Linked DNA regions of Homo sapiens: region 1 is linked to region 2. Evidence: promoter capture Hi-C in 16 types of primary human blood cells and fetal thymus (Javierre and others, 2016). All regions are on one chromosome and are shown on one strand. Each heading gives the region's core, a stretch centred on a gene start or on the middle of the fragment in contact. The rest is flanking DNA. Distances are from core to core; before and after follow the strand shown. Region 1 holds the start of ANKRD39 (ankyrin repeat domain 39). Region 2 holds the start of ASTL (astacin like metalloendopeptidase).

The links. The method cuts DNA at HindIII sites, captures the fragments that hold promoters and counts their contacts. A CHiCAGO score of 5 or more calls a contact.
Region 1: the fragment with the promoter of ANKRD39 here is called in contact with the fragment with the promoter of ASTL in region 2 in 3 of 17 cell types (naive CD8 T cells, monocytes and total B cells); the score reaches 5.9 in naive CD8 T cells.

What each region holds. Positions count from the first base shown.
Region 1 is chr2:96,856,678-96,863,980 of GRCh38, reverse strand. ANKRD39 (ankyrin repeat domain 39) reads left to right here and starts at 5,965. Exons shown (of 4, transcript NM_016466.6): 1 at 5,965-6,093. The coding sequence starts at 5,994. It overlaps SEMA4C (semaphorin 4C), which reads left to right. Exons shown (of 15, transcript NM_017789.5): 11 at 1-55; 12 at 187-299; 13 at 2,087-2,244; 14 at 2,332-2,402; 15 at 2,526-4,263. The coding sequence ends at 3,355. RefSeq lists silencers at 5,435-6,104, 6,135-6,304. The HindIII fragment of the contact is 20,079 bases long and covers 1-7,303 here.
Region 2 is chr2:96,137,011-96,144,393 of GRCh38, reverse strand. It overlaps ASTL (astacin like metalloendopeptidase), which reads left to right and starts at 5,892. Exons shown (of 9, transcript NM_001002036.4): 1 at 5,892-6,012; 2 at 6,694-6,819. The coding sequence starts at 5,958. DUSP2 (dual specificity phosphatase 2) reads left to right here. Exons shown (of 4, transcript NM_004418.4): 3 at 21-240; 4 at 357-1,225. The coding sequence ends at 571. RefSeq lists enhancers at 1-24, 1,735-1,804, 5,968-6,037 and silencers at 2,855-2,904, 2,965-3,014, 4,988-5,077. The HindIII fragment of the contact is 4,955 bases long and covers 5,335-7,383 here.

The DNA.
Region 1 (7,303 bases), core at 4,716-7,215, 720 kb before region 2:
GACCGGGTTACAGGACTTGATGGAGCCACCTATACAGTGCTGTTCATTGGCACAGGTGGGTGCATGGGTATGCAGGCATGGCTGCTCAAGGCTGGGCAGAAGCCCGTGTGCCCAGGGCAGGGAGATTTGGAGCTGCCCCACGGCCTTGTGCCCTCTCATTTACACCTTCTCCTCTGCACCCCCCAGGAGACGGCTGGCTGCTCAAGGCTGTGAGCCTGGGGCCCTGGGTTCACCTGATTGAGGAGCTGCAGCTGTTTGACCAGGAGCCCATGAGAAGCCTGGTGCTATCTCAGAGCAAGGTAGTAAGTTGGGCCCTATCTGCCACTGTCCCCAGCACTATCCCATCTCACTCTCTCCATCTGGCTGCTTCTCCCAGTTGGGCCTATGTGCTTGGCCAGTGCAGAGTTAGGAACACACACACATGTGGATGCACACCTTGCCTAACTTGGGGTGGGTTCCTGGAAACGAGAATGAAAACAGAATGGAATCTGCACTGCACAGGGCCATTATATATAGCCAGGTCACGGGGCTGCGCTCCCAGCATCAAGCCTTGGCAACTGCTCCCATGTTTCTTTCAGACCCTCCAAGCTGTGCTGTGGTTCTGGCTCTGGCCTCTTCCCTGACCATGCCCCTGTGACCAGACCTCCCAGGCTGTGAGATGTTTATGATGCCCTCACCATGGTGGTTTTCCTTCCAGCCCCCATTTCCGTGACTGTTTCCCTGAAGTGCTTGCATTATACCCTTGTGCAATACTCTTTTTGGTTTTTTTTTGAGATGGAGTCTCACTCTGTCACCCAGGCTAGAGTGCAGTGACGCGATCTCAGCTCACTGCAACCTCCACCTCCCAGGTTGAAGCTATTCTTATGCCTCAGCCTCCTGAGTAGCTGGGATTACAGGTGCCTGCCACTATGCCCAGCTAAAGGTTTTTTGTTTTTGTTTTTGTTTTCTTTGAGATGGAGTCTCACTCTGTCGCCCAGGCTGGAGTGCGGTGGCATGATCTCTGCTCACTGCAACCTCCACCTCCCGGGTTCAAGCAATTCTGCCTCGGCCTCCCAAGTAACTGGGACTACAGGCACGTGCCACCATGCCCAGCTAATTTTTTTTTTTTTTTTTTTTTTTGAGATGGAGTCTCGCTCTGTCACCCAGGCTGGAGTGCAGTGGCGCAATCTCGGCTCACTGCAAGCTCTGCCTCCCAGGTTCACACCATTCTCCTGCCTCAGCCTTCCATGTAGCTGGGACTACAGGCTCCCATCACCACGCCTGGCTAATTTTTTGTATTTTTAGTAGAGACGGGGTTTCACCGTGTTAGCCAGGATGGTCTCGATCTCCTGACCTTGCGATCCGCCCGACTCAGCCTCCCAAAGTGCTGGGATTACAGGCGTGAGCCACTGCGCCTGGCCAGCCGGCTAATTTTTGTATTTTTAGTAGAGACAAGGTTTTACCATGTTGGCCAGGCTGGTCTTGAACTCCTAACCTCAAGTGATTTGCCCACCTCAGCCTCCCAAAGTGCTGGGATTCCAGGCATGACCTGCTGTTCCTAGTTGCCTTGTGCAATACTCTTGTGGCATGTTTGCTACACCTCCTGAACTTTGATTTGTTTGCCTTTTACCAGCTATTATGACTCAAAATTGTCCCCTAGAACATGGAATAATGGCAGAAAGAAAGTGTGTGGTTGAATAAACACACAGATTGGCATCCACCGTTGAAACAGGAAAACATCTTATGTTATGCTGCTGCTGTTGTGAGGGCTGATGGGCCTTGAAATGTATTTCCTGCACTATGTGTGTGTGAGTGTGTGTGATTATACTTTTTGGCCTCACAGCCCCATCATCCCTTTCTAATAACGTCACGTCGATAAGGGGCTTAGGATTGCATCTGGCCTGTGTAAGCCCTCTGAGTTCTGCGGTTCTTAGAGTTCCCTTTTCAGCACTATAGCTCTGCCTTGTTCCCTTGTTCCTCCTTCTGGCGCCCCGTGCTGTGCCCCCTGCAGGAGTCCAAGCTGTCCCCATGCTGCGTTCTGGTCCGGCCGCCCCTCCCGTGGTGTGGCCCTGGCCGACCCCCCTCCTGCGCCCCGCTTTTCTCGCAGAAGCTGCTCTTTGCCGGCTCCCGCTCTCAGCTGGTGCAGCTGCCCGTGGCCGACTGCATGAAGTATCGCTCCTGTGCAGACTGTGTCCTCGCCCGGGACCCCTATTGCGCCTGGAGCGTCAACACCAGCCGCTGTGTGGCCGTGGGTGGCCACTCTGGGTGAGTTGGGCTCTACATAGGCCAGGACCTCCAGGGACTCAGGGTGGTTGGAGCCAGGCTGCTGATGTACCCTACATCCCCTACCAGATCTCTACTGATCCAGCATGTGATGACCTCGGACACTTCAGGCATCTGCAACCTCCGTGGCAGTAAGAAAGGTGAGCTTTTTCATTCCCGTCGCATCGGGCTGAGCCCTGGACCAGAGCTGGAGTTTCTGTTCTCCTCTTCCCCAGCCCTGCTTTCCTGCACTAACATGCACTCTGTTTTCTCTGCCACTACAGTCAGGCCCACTCCCAAAAACATCACGGTGGTGGCGGGCACAGACCTGGTGCTGCCCTGCCACCTCTCCTCCAACTTGGCCCATGCCCGCTGGACCTTTGGGGGCCGGGACCTGCCTGCGGAACAGCCCGGGTCCTTCCTCTACGATGCCCGGCTCCAGGCCCTGGTTGTGATGGCTGCCCAGCCCCGCCATGCCGGGGCCTACCACTGCTTTTCAGAGGAGCAGGGGGCGCGGCTGGCTGCTGAAGGCTACCTTGTGGCTGTCGTGGCAGGCCCGTCGGTGACCTTGGAGGCCCGGGCCCCCCTGGAAAACCTGGGGCTGGTGTGGCTGGCGGTGGTGGCCCTGGGGGCTGTGTGCCTGGTGCTGCTGCTGCTGGTGCTGTCATTGCGCCGGCGGCTGCGGGAAGAGCTGGAGAAAGGGGCCAAGGCTACTGAGAGGACCTTGGTGTACCCCCTGGAGCTGCCCAAGGAGCCCACCAGTCCCCCCTTCCGGCCCTGTCCTGAACCAGATGAGAAACTTTGGGATCCTGTCGGTTACTACTATTCAGATGGCTCCCTTAAGATAGTACCTGGGCATGCCCGGTGCCAGCCCGGTGGGGGGCCCCCTTCGCCACCTCCAGGCATCCCAGGCCAGCCTCTGCCTTCTCCAACTCGGCTTCACCTGGGGGGTGGGCGGAACTCAAATGCCAATGGTTACGTGCGCTTACAACTAGGAGGGGAGGACCGGGGAGGGCTCGGGCACCCCCTGCCTGAGCTCGCGGATGAACTGAGACGCAAACTGCAGCAACGCCAGCCACTGCCCGACTCCAACCCCGAGGAGTCATCAGTATGAGGGGAACCCCCACCGCGTCGGCGGGAAGCGTGGGAGGTGTAGCTCCTACTTTTGCACAGGCACCAGCTACCTCAGGGACATGGCACGGGCACCTGCTCTGTCTGGGACAGATACTGCCCAGCACCCACCCGGCCATGAGGACCTGCTCTGCTCAGCACGGGCACTGCCACTTGGTGTGGCTCACCAGGGCACCAGCCTCGCAGAAGGCATCTTCCTCCTCTCTGTGAATCACAGACACGCGGGACCCCAGCCGCCAAAACTTTTCAAGGCAGAAGTTTCAAGATGTGTGTTTGTCTGTATTTGCACATGTGTTTGTGTGTGTGTGTATGTGTGTGTGCACGCGCGTGCGCGCTTGTGGCATAGCCTTCCTGTTTCTGTCAAGTCTTCCCTTGGCCTGGGTCCTCCTGGTGAGTCATTGGAGCTATGAAGGGGAAGGGGTCGTATCACTTTGTCTCTCCTACCCCCACTGCCCCGAGTGTCGGGCAGCGATGTACATATGGAGGTGGGGTGGACAGGGTGCTGTGCCCCTTCAGAGGGAGTGCAGGGCTTGGGGTGGGCCTAGTCCTGCTCCTAGGGCTGTGAATGTTTTCAGGGTGGGGGGAGGGAGATGGAGCCTCCTGTGTGTTTGGGGGGAAGGGTGGGTGGGGCCTCCCACTTGGCCCCGGGGTTCAGTGGTATTTTATACTTGCCTTCTTCCTGTACAGGGCTGGGAAAGGCTGTGTGAGGGGAGAGAAGGGAGAGGGTGGGCCTGCTGTGGACAATGGCATACTCTCTTCCAGCCCTAGGAGGAGGGCTCCTAACAGTGTAACTTATTGTGTCCCCGCGTATTTATTTGTTGTAAATATTTGAGTATTTTTATATTGACAAATAAAATGGAGAAAATGAAACGATTGCTCTGATGGGGCTAAGATGTTTGGGCTAAAGCCTTTCTGGGTACCAAGAGGGAAGGCTCTCTGGGTGGAGGGAGGCTGGACTGGGCCTCCCCCACAATCCCAGGGCAGCCACCACTTTTGTGGTCCCTGCCTGCCTGTGGGAGGGGACAGCCCAGCTCTAGTGTTTTCCCACAGTGGTGGCTGCGGGGCTGGGAACGAGACCATGGCCATAGCCCCTTGGGAGCCAGCCTTGGCTTCTGGCCAGAAGGAGAAGTCAGGGCACTGGGAGTCCAGGGGAGAAGCGGAGTGGTGGGGGGGGTGCCTTCCCAGAACTCAAGACGGGTAGTGGGAATGAGGGGCCAAAGGAGTGGAAGGTTGTGGAGATGAGATCATTGCTTGTGTGAGGATGGGGTTCTCAACCTGCTTAGGGGAGGAGAAACGACTTCCAGCCTTCTACCCACCAGGAATGCTAGGGTCTTCCGTGCCCCAACTAGCGGGGGAAGGAACTTACATCCAGTGTGCACCAGACCACTGTCCTGGAGAGGGACTGGCACAGAACCCAACCTGCATTCTGTCGTTCATGCACTCTTTCTAAGCCGATCAGGCGGTCTCCCCTGTACACTTGATCGTGGCTTGAGCAGGCAGCTGCCTGGGTTTTAACTGGGAATTGAGAAGGCTGGGGTCCGCTGAGGAGCACGCTGCGAAGGTGCGCGGTCCGCAGACGGCCTCCCGGTGGGTTTTGATCATGAAGACCGATTCCGTAAACTCAGCGCCCACTGTGGGGCCAGGGGGTTCTGCACAAACCAAGGCCCTGCCCCTGCCCTGAGGTGGAGCTACAGGCAGGACAAGTTGTGGCCACCTGCCCCTTGCTGGACTTGTAAGGAAGAGCAGGGTACGGGGAGGGGCGTCTCGAGGCCTTTCCAGCCGTCACTTTGCCGCTGCCCCGGGGGCGGTCGGCCTTGGTCCGGGGTGGTGCCAGGAAGAGGGGCTAAAAACCGTGGAGCGCGCCCCGGCCCGATGGCTCACGCCTGTAATCCCAGCACTTTGGGAGGCCAAGGTGAGCGGATCACGAGGTCAAGAGATCGAGACCATCCTGGCGAAACCCCGTCTCTACTAAAAAATACAAAAAATTAGCCGGGCGTGGTGGCGGGCGCCTGTAGTCCCAGCTACTCAGGAGTCTGACGCAGGAGAATCGCTTGAACCCGGGAGGCGGAGGTTGCAGTGAGCCGAGATCGCGCCACTGCACACAAGTCTGGGTGACAGCGAGACTCCGTCTCAAAAAAAAAAAAAAAAAAAAAAAAGACCGCGGAGCGCGTGGCGCCTCCCTGCCCTAGGGACTAGGGGCGGTAAAGAGAGGAGGCTGCGAGGTCGCTGGACGGCTGGGTCATGGCGAAGGTAACGGGAAAGCTCCCGACCGGACCCAGCTGCCTCATCCCCACACCCTGCAAGGCCAGGCGGCCCGGCGGCCCTCCAGCGGCGCGCGGCTCCCGGAACCCAGCGCCTCAGTCCTCGCTTGGCCTTGGACGCCCTCGCGCGGAGGCCTCGGGGCACGGCCGGGCGCAACAAGCCCCGCCCTACCGTTGCAATTGGTTCTCGAGCTAAGGCCTAGGCGTTTGATTGGTCAGCTTTGGCGAGAAGGCGGGACTAGGGCGACAGCCGCGGACGCCGAGCGGCCAGATCAGGGACGCGGGGCGGGCCCTGCGTCCGCCCCTCCCGCCGAGGCTGAGCCTGAGACCCGGGGCGGATCGACTGACGCCGGGGCCGGGATGGCGACGCCTCGGCCCTGCGCGGACGGGCCCTGCTGCTCGCATCCCAGCGCGGTGCTCGGCGTACAGCAGACGCTGGAGGAGATGGACTTCGAGAGGGGTGAGGCTGCCGCGCGGCCCTCGTGGTTCTCACCAGGCCCCGGCCCAAGGAGGAGGCGTGGGGCCAAGGAGAGGCGGATGAACGGGGCCCCGAGAGCTTGGGGCTTGGGGCTTGGGGCCTGGTGCGGGAAGGCGGGCGGGACCCACGGTTCCCGTGTACTGAGAGCCTCCCAGGGCCCCGCACGAGCTCGGCCAGGAGACACCTGTCCCGCGGGCGGCGGGGAAGCGGAAGCACTGGTTTCCGTAACCCTCCCGAGTAGCGGGGGACGACCTCCCCTGGGAGACACAAGCCTGCTCAGGTGTTTGAGAGAGGGCCCGGGGAGCAGAATCTGCACCAGGGGCATTGCACCCAACCTGAGGGGCATGGAGCTGCAGGCCTGGGGGCTGCGCGGTGAAGGAGAGCAGTGGCCTTTGTTTAGCCCCGGGTGCCAGGCAGCCTGCATGCTTTAAAGATGGCAAGAGCTTCGCACGGGCAGCCTTCGAGGCAGGGCACAGTATCTCATCTGTGGGACCCAGAGAGGTAACACGTTTGGCCCAGATTATACAGAGATTATGGTGCCAATAGGAACAGAGGAAGGCGGGAAACCAGGGTGCTTCTTGTGAGCGTTGGGAACCACTGTGCTGTGTCATCTGCCCTTGCGGATGCAGCCCTCGATTGCCACTGCTGTGTAAGCATTCTCATGGAACTCTTCCTTTACCGTGGTTCTGGCACCTGCCTACTTCCCTCCGCCCCTCCTACCGCTGTCCTCTGCACTGCTGAAGTGGTTGCCTCAGAGGGTCTTTCTGCTTCCACGCTTGCCTTCCTACAGGGTTTTCTACTCTCACATAGCAGCCAGAGCGGCTTTTTGAAAATTAGAAATCACATCATTCCCTGTTATGGCCTACAAAGCTCTGTAGACCCACCCCTGCCGGTTCTACTTCTCCTCCTCATTTTATTTCTCATGCTTTTCTTCCCCCAATCACTACGCCGCAGCCACACTGGTCTTGTTTTGGTGTCTCAAATATGCAAGACCTTTTCCTGAGTTAAGGCCGTTGGACTTGCTGTCCCATCTCCTTAGAATGAACTTCCTACAACCGTTAAGCTAGCTGATGCTTTTCTTCAGATCCCAGCTCCAATGTCATCTCCTCAGAGACCCTCCCTAAACACCCCAGTTCTCAACTGGGGGCAGTTCTGCCCTTTAAGGGACTTTGAATATCTGGAGACATTTTGG
Region 2 (7,383 bases), core at 4,643-7,142:
CGCCCCTCTGTTCCCTCCAGGGTGGCCCTGTGGAGATCTTGCCCTACCTGTTCCTGGGCAGCTGCAGTCACTCGTCAGACCTGCAGGGGCTGCAGGCCTGTGGCATCACAGCCGTCCTCAACGTGTCCGCCAGCTGCCCCAACCACTTTGAGGGCCTTTTCCGCTACAAGAGTATCCCTGTGGAGGACAACCAGATGGTGGAGATCAGTGCCTGGTTCCAGGAGGCCATAGGCTTCATTGGTAAGGGGGCACCTCTGCCCAGAAATCCCGAGGGGCTCCAGAGGAGAGGACTGGGGGCACCTGTCTCCTGGGCTGTGCACATTCCGTCTGACACCACTCCCCCATCTCCCTTGCAGACTGGGTGAAGAACAGCGGAGGCCGGGTGCTGGTGCACTGCCAGGCGGGTATCTCGCGCTCTGCCACCATCTGTCTGGCATACCTCATGCAGAGTCGCCGTGTGCGGCTGGACGAGGCCTTTGACTTCGTTAAGCAGCGCCGGGGGGTCATCTCCCCCAACTTCAGTTTCATGGGGCAGCTGCTGCAGTTTGAGACCCAGGTGCTGTGTCACTGAGGTGGTGCCCCTCTGCCTGCCTGCCCCACTGTGCTGGCAGGAGCTGACTGTGGACTGGTGGGCTCCCCTCTGGGCCAGCACAGTCCCCTCACCTCTGGCAGGGCTGCTACCTCCTCAGAGTTTCAGAAGCCCCCACATGGGGGCTCTAGGAATGCCGGCATGCTGGTCTTTCCGACCTGGTGCTCTTCTGCTGGGGGACTGAGGCTGGCCCTCATTCGGGGTCGGGAACCAAGGGTGTGTCTGCTCTTTCCCTCCCCATCCTCTGGCAGAAATCAGCTAGACGCTATACCGTGGACTCTCCCTGGTCCACCACCATGTTGAAGCCCTTGGCAGCCTGAGAGCTCCAAGGAACAAGCTGTGACAACCAGGAGCCCTGTCTGTGGGTTCGTCTGCCCAGGGCCTGGAGCCCAAGCCCTGTGTTCCTGGGGAAGCTGGGGACTTGGGAAGTGATGGGTGTGTCATGTTGCGTGTGTCTGTCTGTGAGCCTTTCACACCTGTGCTGGCGCTGGAAAATTATTTGTGCTCAGCTGACATTTAACACTCCCTCCCCCGCTTCCTCCTAGCCCTGTGGGCAGGGGTTGGAAACTTAGCACTTTATATTTATACAGAACATTCAGGATATGTCAATAAAATATTGTTATATTTAAAAAACAACAACCCAGCATCTGGTCTCATCTGATACCCGGGAGCCTGCTTGGACCTCACGTTTCCTTGTGCCCTTGGGGTTTGGGAAGTGAATGGGCAGAGGGGCCAGCGGCCGGAAGGGGCAGGTCTGACCCTCCCCACAAAGGCTGCTCTCTTGGCCCCAGTTCTCCCTGGGCTGGCGTCTTTTCCCAGACAGGGACCTCGCTCCAGAGCTGAACAGGGTTGTTTCTGGGAGGCTGGGTCCCGTCCGTGACTCAGAGCCAGGCCCAGTGCTGCCCCGATCAGACCCCGCTTCCTTTTCGGAATGTGGAAGGATGCGAGTGTGTGCCTGAGGGTGTGGTCCTGTGGGGGTGGGTGGTCTTGGCCCATGCACACCTGCATGTTGCGCATGGTGTTCCTGTGGGAGCGTGTGTGCACGCCCACACAAGAGGCACTTCCCAGGCCGTGTGGGTCTCTACTTCCTCACAGCAGGCCTGCATGGCCTCCCTACTCTTCTCCCACATCCCAGGGCTGGGGCTCACAGCGTCCCCTGTTCCAGAGCTCCTTCATGTCCCCCAAAGGCATGTGGCCCTGTGTCTGGTGCAGAGGACCTGTCACCAGGGATGGGATTCATTGCTCTGCACACCCACCCAACTAGCACATCTTGGCCGAGCTTCAATTACGGGCCCAGCATAGGACTAAGGTTCAGTGGAGACCTGAGACCAGGGCCCCGCCCACGCCAGAAGCCAAGGGGTACCTGCCGACGCTGCCGGGAGGGGGTGCTGTGATCTGCCTGTGAGCAGGGGTGCTGAGGCCTTTGGAAATGGTTGTGCGGGAGCCAGTCCTGCTTCAGGCTCACTGGGACACTCGGCCATTTGGAGTGTCATCCAGCCAAGGGTTGTCTCTGCACAGTGCTACCTCTAAGGATCTGTCCGTGGTCTGTTAGGAACTGGGCTGCACAGCCGGAGGTGAGCAGCTTCATCAGTATTACAGCCGCACCCCATTGCTAGCATTACTGCCTGAGCTCCGCCTCCTATCAGATCAGCGGTGGCATTAGATTCTCATAGGAGCTTGAACCCTGTTGTGAACTGCATTGGAGGGATATAGGATGTATGCTCCTTATGAAACTCTAACTAATGCCTGATGATCTGTCACTGTCTCCCATCACTCCCAGATGGGACCGTCTAGTCTCAGGAAAACAAGCTCTGGGCTCCCACTGATTCTACATTATGGTGAGTTGTATAAAATTATTTCATTGTAGATTACAATGTAATGATAGAAATAAAGTGCACAATAAATGTAATGCACTTGAATCACCTAGAAACCATCCCCCTCACCATCCTGGGCCAGGCATGGTGGCTTATGCCTCTAATCCTAGCACTTTGGGAGGCCGAGATGGGTGGATCAACTGAGGTCAGGAGTTCGGGACCAGCCTGGCCAACATGGTGAAACCCCGCCTCTACTAAAAATACAAAAATTAGCCAGGCATGGTGGCGGGCGCCTGTTATCCCAGCTACTTGGGAGTCTGAGGCAGGAGAATTGCTTGAACCTGGGAGGTGGAGGTTGCAGTGAGCCAAGATTGCGCCATTGCACTCCAGCCTGAGCATCAAGAGTGAAACTCCATCTCAAACAGAGGAACAAACAAAAACCGGTCCCTGGTGCCACAAAGGTTGGGAACTGCTGTCTTACGGCATTCTGAATGCCTGGGAGGGTGTGCTTGTGGGGCAGGGCAGTGTAGTTTGACAGTCCGGGGGCTGGTTTTGCTTCACCTTGCTGTATACAGTTTTCTTGTCTGTAAAATGGAGTTTCATTGTTAGCCCCCACCTCTGAGGATGTAGACTTACACAAGTCAATCCATGTAGTGCCTGCTCATAGTAGGCGCTCCGAAAATGTTAGCTAACTACGGCCCTAGGAGTGAGGTTGATCTGATGTGCCGGTGTGCACATGCGAGGTGTGCATCTGGACCAGGATGGACACTCATAACGGCTGGGCCTGGGGTCCACTCAGCCTTGTGCCTGGAGCCTGGCACAGGTGGGCGCTCACTCTGTGAGGCCGAATGAAGGGTGATTCTTGTTCCCACTGCTGTCTGAGGGGTGGGGTGAGCCACTCCAGTGTGAACTGGGCAGAGCCGGGGTTGCTATTCTGCCTTCCTTAGGAGCTGAGTAGGCATCTGTTGGGACCCACTTGTACCCCCATGCCCAGCTTGGGTGGGTGGGGGACATCTGGGGCTCTAAGTCATAGGGGACTTCACACCACACAGCCTCATCTCACACACAGCTGCACTGGTGGCTGAGGCCTCTGCCCACCCCCCACCCTTGGCCCTACCCCATCCCACCCTACCCAGCCCCAATCCCCTCTCCTTCCTTCCCCGTGCTTTTTATAGCTTGTCATCTAGCAAACTGCCCTTCTCTTTCTCTCTCTTTTCCTCCTTTCCTTCTTTCCTATTTATTAAATTTTTAAACTTTTAATTGTGGTAAAAAATGCAACATAAAATTGGTCATCTTTACCATTATCAAGTGTTTAGTAAAGTGTATTCACATCGTTGTGCACAGATATCCAGAGCTTTTTCATCTTGCGAACCTGAAATCCTATACCTATTAAATGATAACTCCCCTCCCCAGTCCCCAGCCCCTTGTGAGCTCCGTTCCACTTTCCGTCCCTGTGCACTGGGCTACTCTAGACACCTCTTGGAGGTAGAAGCATGCAGGATTTGTCTTTTTGTGACTGGCTTGTTTCGCTCAGCAAAATATCCTCAGACCAACTGCATGTCCTAATAAAGACTCTGTTTCTCTCCCCAAGCAGGGTGATTATTTCTTATCATTATTTTAATTCTTTTGTTTTTTGAGACAGAGTCTCACTCTGTTGCCCAGGCTGGAGTGCAGTGGCACAATCTTGGCTCACTGCAACCTCTGCCTCCTGAGTTCAAGGGATTTCTGGCTAATTTTTGTATTTTTAGTAGAGATGGGGTTTCACCGTGTTGGCTAGGCTGGTCTCGAACTCCTGACCTCAAGTAATCTGCCTGCCTTGGCCTCCCAAAATGCTGGGATTACAGGCATGAGCCACTGCGCCCGGTCTACTTTATTTTTTTTTACTGAACATTCATCTTTTTTTTTGAGATGGAGTCTCACTCTGTCCCCCGGGCTAGAGTGCAGTGGCGCGATTTTGGCTCATTGCAAACTCCACCTCTGGGTTCAAGTGATTCACCTGCCTCAGCCTCCCGAGTAGGTGGGATTACAGGTGCCCGCCACCGTGCCCAGCTAATTTTTGTATTCTTTTAGTAGAGATGGGGTTTCACCATGGTGGCCAGTCTGGTCTTGAATTCCTGACCTCGTGATCCACCTGCCTTGGCCTCCCAAAGTGCTGGGATTATAGGCGTGAGCCACCGCGCCCTCCTGAACACTCATCTTAAGTGGTCAGCCTTGTGCATTTGTTTTTTGATGGGTCCTATTCTTTATTTTACTTATTTTTTCTAGGTTTACTGAGGCATAATCGACAAATAAAAGTAGTATATGTTTAAGTATACAACGTGATGTTTTGACATATGCATACCTTGTGAAATGATGACCACAACAAGCTAACTAGCATATCCATGGTGTGTATCCTGACATCTGTCAATACCCTGCCCTGGCAGCAGGGCGTCTGCCTCCATCATGGTCTCCCTGTGATTCTGATTCCTATCTTTGGAGAAGCTCTGGATTCCAGGCACAGTGGGAATGCTGAAAGGTCCTTGTGGACAATAGCTATTCTTCTTGGCTCTGTCGCTTCCCTTCACTGGGTGCAGGTGACTGTGGGGGTGTCCCCAAATGCTGCCCAGCGCTGACATGCTCCGCCTCTGGGATTTCAATCCAGGTGGGGCCCTGAGTGACCTGGCTCTGGGGCTCAGGGGTATGGAGGAGGGGGGATATAGGTAAGGAGTTTAAATTTCCAAATCTGTGAAATGGGAATAAATACTGACTGATCATGCCAGCTGCTGTGGGATTAGGGGGTGGACTCCCTGCGAGGCTCTGGGCATCTGGGGGTTCCACCTTTCCCACATGGCAGGCTTTCTAGGGTGCTGCACACTGTTCAGTTTGTGAAATTTCCTGGAGCCCTGTGCTTGTGATAGTGAACTTTTCTATATGTGTACTAAAATAAAAGCTTGTGAAAGTGCAGTGACCTTTTCCTCCTTCCGGAGATACACGGGGGGCGCCCCAGGGTCTCAGGCAGCTTTCCCCATGTCTAAGCACAGGCCGGGGTAGGAAAGGGGGTCTCCCTCGCTGGAGGAATAGGTCTATACCTGGGCTGGGGCCTCAGCTAGGCCTGGAGCAACTTTCTGCGATGTTTCTCTGCCCCCTGGAGGCAGGAAGGAACCTCAGAAGAGCCACACTCCCAAGCGGGCCCCTCCTGTCTTTCACCTGCTACAGCCAGGAAGGGGACTGGGCTGGGGTGGGAACCACAGGTAGGCATCGGAGGGGCTGCCAGTAGACCTGGTTTGGGTGGCGCTGCCGGTAGAGCTGGTTGGGGCGGGGCTGCAGGTGGAGCTGGTTGGGGCGGGGCTGCAGGTGGAGGTGGTTGGGGCGGGGCTGCAGGTGGAGATGGTTGGGGCGGGGCTGCAGGTGGAGGTGGTTGGGGCGGGGCTGCAGGTGGAGGCGGTTGAGGGGAGCAAGGTGGGAGGTGGAGCAGCTGCTATTTAAGAGGGGGTGGTGGTGCCGGTTCTGCAATTAGGTTACTGTGTCTTGCTGGGGCTTGGTCTTGTTTGCTGAAGGGGCAGCAGGGCTCTACCATGGAGGGTGTAGGGGGTCTCTGGCCTTGGGTGCTGGGTCTGCTCTCCTTGCCAGGTAAGCTGGCTGCCTGTCCCTCCTGCTGCTGGCTCCAGCCTGGAGAAAGCTGGGGAGAGGCTAGAAGGTTGTGGCTGGAGCCTGCAGGGATTGTAGCTGAGCTCAGTAGCTCAGAGCACAGAGCTCTCCAGGGTTATTCTAGAAGTCAGCTCCTGGGGGGCCAAGGGGAGGCCTCCTGAAGGCCCTGGAAGCAGAGGGCCTGCCTGGCAGAAGATAAGTGTTGTGCCCCAGGCCTACTTGTCTTGGGGTGGGGGTAGGCTGTAAGTCCCCACTCCAGCCTGGTCAGGCAGGGAGTCATCCAGGCTGAGCCCATTGTCCAAGAGCCTGGGCTGAGAGAGAGTCATAAGGTGGGGTCTGAGGCTGGCCCTGCCCGTCACGGGCGTCAGAACCCGAGGTCTGTCCTGCCTCCTTCCTTCCTGCCCCTCCTCTACCTCATAGGTGGGGCACATGGTCCCTTTTGGTCCCCCTAAGGGAGCTCCTTCCCTGAGGTCATCTAGACCTTGGCACCAGTTGGGGTTGAGCAGGGAGGCTGGGAAGGCTCCTTGGCTTTGTGCTGGAGCCTACTCTTCCTAGGGACTGAGTCTTACCGTCTGATCCCCCACACCCACCCCATGTCCTGCTGTCTGGTCTCACCGGTGGGTGCTCCAGGCATCTGTGTATGCCCCTGTCTGTCTGGACCAGGTGTGATCCTAGGAGCGCCCCTGGCCTCCAGCTGCGCAGGAGCCTGTGGTACCAGCTTCCCAGATGGCCTCACCCCTGAGGGAACCCAGGCCTCCGGGGACAAGGACATTCCTGCAATTAACCAAGGTGAGGGCACTACATCTTCTCACGGCCTGGAGGGGCACGACGTTATGTAGTGTGAAAACCACACCGAACACTCAGAAATGCAGAGCCTGGGAGGAAATGGACCAGCTTACTCTGGGCTCTAAGTGGTTTTTAAGAGATGGAGTGGTGTTGCTATATTGCCCCGGCTGGTCTTGAACTCCTGGCCTTAAGTGATCTTCCTGCCTCTGCCTCCCGAGCAGCTGGGACTACAGGTGTGAATGGGTGGAAATTCTATGGGCAATTGCTTAAGTCTACTCTTTCTTTTTGTATCTTTCTTAGTGGATTGTTACTTTTATAAGAAAAACCAAGCTCTTAAAGGGCCTGGGCGTGGAGCTAAGCGGTTAGTCGCAGTCTGAGATTGTCAGCCACCCTGTGCAGGACTGTCTGCAGGTGTGATTAAGAAGTCTGAAGCTCAGCTGGGTGCGGTGGCTCTCGCCTGTAGTCCCAGCACTTTGGGAGGCTGAGGCGGGCAGATCATGAGGTCAGGAGATCGAGACCATCCTGGCTAACACAGTGAAACCCCGTCCCCACCAAAAATACAAAAAT